Linked DNA regions of Homo sapiens: region 2 is linked to region 1. Evidence: promoter capture Hi-C in human tissues and cell types (Jung and others, 2019). All regions are on one chromosome and are shown on one strand. Each heading gives the region's core, a stretch centred on a gene start or on the middle of the fragment in contact. The rest is flanking DNA. Distances are from core to core; before and after follow the strand shown.

Evidence for each region. Contacts are between HindIII fragments. The study calls those that stand out against the background at their distance.
Region 2: a fragment that was not itself captured here is called in contact with the fragment with the promoter of BCAM in region 1 in 1 of the 25 tissues and cell types used here (spleen).

The regions. Positions count from the first base shown.
Region 1 is chr19:44,807,827-44,810,380 of GRCh38, forward strand. BCAM (basal cell adhesion molecule (Lutheran blood group)) reads left to right here and starts at 1,277. Exons shown (of 15, transcript NM_005581.5): 1 at 1,277-1,380. The coding sequence starts at 1,299. The HindIII fragment of the contact is 22,699 bases long and covers 1-2,554 here.
Region 2 is chr19:44,868,962-44,871,515 of GRCh38, forward strand. The region is part of intron 2 of NECTIN2 (nectin cell adhesion molecule 2); the gene reads left to right. Among named protein-coding and RNA genes, the nearest start is that of TOMM40, 21 kb to the right of the region's middle. The HindIII fragment of the contact is 9,277 bases long and covers 1-2,554 here.

The DNA.
Region 1 (2,554 bases), core at 27-2,526:
GCCCACTGCATTCCCGGCTGGGCAACAGAGCGAGACCCTGTCAAAAACAAAACAAACAAACAAAAAAAACGTTGGTCTCCTGTATGACCAATGGATAAAGTAACCTTGACCAGTCTAATAACTCCCAGGCTGACCTGTAATCCAAGCCTTCTCTGTATGTCTGAGCAGGCAAAGCCCAGCTCCAGGGCTACCTCAACCCCCAGGCTGATCAGAAGCTTGGGTAACCTCTCCCAGTGTGGCCAGCGACCCCCCACCCTCCCACGTTCTGACCACTGTCCTGGGCAACTAGTGACATCTAGTGGGGGATTTTGTCCCAGTCTGACCTGGCCTGTAGGGGCCTTGGGCAGTCGGACCTGTGACCCACGCTTCCTAGCAGTGGCTGGACTCCTCCCCCTTCCCGCAGGTGCCCTGGCCTCTTCCCCTGCCCTCCTCACCTGCTCTGGCCAGTCTGACTCCTCCCTTCCCCACAAGGTTGGGAGGGAATGAAGGAGAGAGCGGGAAGGAGGAAGGGAGGGTGGCATTCCTGGGATTCCCTGGATAGGGGGAAGAGTGGGAGGGCCTTCCATGGGTGAGCAAGCAGAGAGGGCACCCCGTACCCCACCCCCAGCCCCATCATCGAAGCGGCCTAGGAGGACCTGGATTTGAAGACCATTGAAAATAAGAGATTAAACCGGTTGATTCCAGGCTACTGGTCAGACGAGGAAAGCAGCCCAGAGCACTGACCACAGGGGAAAACATCTCCGGGCATACTGGGAGCAGCTGCTGGGGGCCACTGGTCAGGCTGCGGGGGTCACTGGTTGGACTGGGAGAGGCCAGTGCAGGCCACTCGGACGGCACGCTTGGGGCCATTAGTTACACTGGGAGAGGCCATCGCAGGCCACAGGTTGCAGTGGGGTCCTCTGGTTAAAATCGACGATGCCAGCCCAGGCTGCTGGTCACAGTGGGGACGAGTCCCCAAGGCCCCTGGTCAGAATAACGAGGAGAAGGTCCGCGATTGCCTGGTGAGATCCCAGCTCGGGTCACTGGCTACGCTGGTCGATCAGGCCCCCCGCTGCAGGCGCTGGTCAGTAAGCCCGGACAGCTCTAGGCTTGGGGGCGGACGAGCCCCGAGCCTGGCCCCGTGCACTGGGAGGTCCGCTCCGGGCAGTGGGAGGTCCTGGCCCCGCGCCCGGGCATCGGGGGACGAGGGGGGCCTGGAGGGCGGGGCGGGGCGGGGCTGCCGGGGGCGGGGCCTCTGGCTCCCAGCCCCGCAGCGGCCGAGCTGCAGCCCGGGCTCAGTCTCCGCCGCCGCCGTGAACATGGAGCCCCCGGACGCACCGGCCCAGGCGCGCGGGGCCCCGCGGCTGCTGTTGCTCGCAGTCCTGCTGGCGGCGCACCCAGGTATGGCTCGGGCTGAGGGCAAGGTGGGACTGGGGAGAGGCCCCTGGGGACCCCGGGAAAGCGAGGAGAAAGGGCTTTACCCTGACCCCAGGAAGCAAAATGTGGGGACCCCAAGGAGGAGGGATATGGGAGTGTTGGAAGGTACGCCTTCCAGTGAGAGAGATCTGGGGACAGCCAGGCAGGAGAGCTGGGGATACCCAGGCGGTGGATCAGAGACAACCAGAGAAGTCAGCCCCCTTCCCACTCAGCACCCTGGAATCTGGGTCCCACCTGCCTCCTCCCTCAGACCCTGGAATCTGGGCCCCCAGCCCCTCTTTCCTCAGACCCAGGAGTCCAGGCCTCCAGTGGCTAGAATAGCTTCCCCCAGGGCACAGAGGATCAAAACCCCAGGGCTCTCTCCCTCAAAGGTCCTCAAGTTTTGAGAGGTCCAGGGACCCCTTAGAGAAGCGAGGACCATGTGTCCCCACACCAGCGATCCACATGTATTTAGGAGTTTCCAGAGTCCAGTATAAAGAACCCGCCTCCCTCAGGAAAGGGCTGGAGCACCAGCCCCGGGCAGTGACAGTGGAACAAAGTGTTTCCAAGTGACAGGCCCCCTTCCTGGGGCCTCAGCTACATTTACACACCTGCATGAGGATAGAAGGAGAGGAGGCCGGGGGCTGGGGGGTGGGGGTGGGGGTGCTGGGGACAGAGGGACAGAGAGATGAGAGAGATTGGGGAAGAGAGAGGAACTCTCTGCCTCCACTTGTCTGCAGATCAGACCCAGCCTTAGGCACCAGCCTGGACCCCGTCACCCCTCCCTGGGGACAGGCTGGGGCCAGAGGTGAGCGCTTGGGAATCCAGGCCCCTGGCACACTCATGGTCAACAGTGGGTCCCCAGGGGTAGGGCTGGGCCAGATTGAGCAGAGAAGGGAAGGGAGTTTCTAAGAAGCACTGAGAGCTGATGCCAGGATGCCAGCCCAGAGGGTGAGGGAGGGTGGTGGTTTTTCTACAATAACTACTCCACCAGGCCCCAGCCTCCTCTTCCCTCTGATCCCAGGAGTCCAGGTGCCCAGCTTCCCAAGATCCTGGGCCTCAACCTTATCCTTTTGCAAGATGACTCGACTTATCCCGTTTGCTGTTGTATCAAACTGAGGGGGGCCAAGAGGCGGCTGGGGGCTCTGGCTCCAGGCCG
Region 2 (2,554 bases), core at 18-2,517, 61 kb after region 1:
GCAACTTCCCAGAAGCCACGTCACTCTGGATGCCTTTTCTTCCCCCTTCTCAGCCCAGAGCGTCTGAGAAGGTCACCCTGTGCTATCCTTGAGTAAACACTTCCCTTTCCAGTAACACATGAAACCACAGCCGTTTTCCATAATACAAAGGACAGCTCTTCTCCTCCCCACCCTCACAAACGCCTCTCTTCTTGTGCAATCATTTGTTCTCATCCAGAGATAACTTCAGGGCTGGGCACGGTGGCTCACACCTGTAATCCCAGCACTTTGGGAGGCTGAGAGGCAACAAGAGCAAAACTCTGTCTCAAAATAAATAAATAAATAATGAGACTCAGAAAATATGATTAAGGGCCAGGCGCAGTGGCTCACGCCTGTAATCCCAGCACTTTGGGAGGCCGAGGCAGGCGGATCACGAGGTCAGGAGATTGAGACCATCCTGGCTAACACGGTGAAACCCTGTCTCTACTAAAAATACAAAAAAATTAGCCGGGCGTGGTGGCGGGTGCCTGTAGTCCCAGCTACTTGGGAGGCTGAGGCAGGAGAATGGCATGAACCCAGGAGGCGGAGCTTGCAGTGAGCCGAGATCGCATCACTGCACTCCAGCCTGGGCGACAGAGCGAGACTCCATCTCAAAAAAAAAAAAAAAAAGAAAAGAAAATATGATTAAGTGTAGGGTTTAATCAAGCCCAAAGCTTGAGGATGACCACCTGGGAGCATAGATTGAAGTTGCCCTGAATATACACTTCAAGCAGGGGCCAAGGCAAGCAGCTCTTGCAAGTGAGCTTTTGTTTGTTTGTTTGTTTCTTGGAGAGAGGGTCTCCAAAACTACAAATAAAAATTAGCTAGGAATGGTGGCGCACACCTGTAATCCCAGCTACTCAGGAGGCTAAGGCAGGCGAATTGCTGAAACCAGCAAGGGCAGGTTGCAGTAAGCTGAGATTGCACCACTGCACTGCATCCTGGGTGACAGCAAGACTCTGTCTCAAATTAATAAAAAAAAAAGAGAGAGAGAGAGATAACCTCAAGAGCTTCCGTATACACACTGGTGCAGAAGTAAGGAACAAAACAGCCAAAGCCTCTGTCTTCATGATGCGTGAGCCACCAAGGAATAGTTGGCCAGAGTCGGCGGTCAGGAAAGTGCCCTTGACGAAGTGGGGCTTGGAGTGGGGTCTGGAGAAGGAGGCCAAAGCAATCCAGGCACAAAATCACCAACCAAAACCCCAAAGTGGGTGGAGGCAGAGACTGAGGAGGGCGTGGATGGGGAGCATGTGGAGTGGCCAGGGGAGGTGGCCATGGGGAAGTGGTGGGCTCGGGCCCTGAGTCACTATTCTAACAGCTTGGAGGGCGGCCAGGAGGATGTGGGGAGGCTTGTTGGATGCTCCACGATGGTCAGGGGAGAAGGCGGTGGGAAGGGAGAGCTGGGAAGAAGAGGAGAGTCAGACCGTGTTGAGAAGTTCAGAGGTGGATACCCAGGTCCAGAAAGCAACAGAAGATGTGAGTCTGGGTGGGGGACACACATCATAAGCATGAGCTGCTATTCTTCCTGGAGTTTTGTTTTTGTGATTTTTTTCCATGTTTTCCAAGAGAATGAGGTGGAAAGGGTATAAAAAAAAGAAACGGCTTTGAGATTTTCTGCCTTTATCACACTTCCAGTCATTCAATCATCTAATGGTGATTACAGGAAAAGGAACAGGGGGCCTTTCCAGCTGGACCTTTGAACCACAGTACTCAGTTACTCGCTCGGCCTTGATTTGCTTTTTTTTTTTCCTTTTTTTTTTTTTTCTTTTGGAGACAGAGTCTCACTGTCACCCAGGCTGGAGTGCAGTGGCACGATCTCGGCTCACTACAACCTCTGCCTCCCAGGTTCAAGCAATTCTCTTACCTCAGCCTCCCGAGTACCTGGGATTACAGGCACCTGCCACCACGCCCAGCTAATTTTTGCATTTTTAGTAGAGATGGGGTTTCACCACGTTGGCCACGCTAGTCTAGAACTCCTGACCTCAGGTGATCTGCCCACCTGGGCCTCCCAAAGTGCTGGGATTACAGGCATGAGCCACTGCGCCCATCCTAATTTTTGTATTTTCAGTAGAGATGAGTTTTCACCATGTTGGCCAGACTGGTCTCAAATTCCTGGCCTCAAGTGATCCACCCTCCTCAGCCTCCTAAAGTGCTGGTATTGCAGGTGTGAACCACCACGCCCGACCAGCTTTTTTTTAAATCTCAGCCTCCTCTAGGCTTTTGGACCCTGTCTCTGCATCTCTGGCAGGGCGAAGAGACAGTATACCGAAATGGCCAGGCCAGGCGCCTGTAACCTCAGAGCTTTGGGGAGCCGAGGTGGGAAGATGGCTTGTGCTCAGGAGTTTGAGATCAGCCTGGGCAACATAGCAAGAACTCATCTCTACAAAAAAATTTAAAAATTAGCCGGGCATGGTGGTGCATGCCTATGGTCCTAGCTACTCTGGAGGCCAAGGCGGGAGGATCACTTGAGCCTAGGAGGTGCAGGCTGCAGCAAGCTATGATCACACCACTGCACTCGAGACCAGGTGACAGAGCG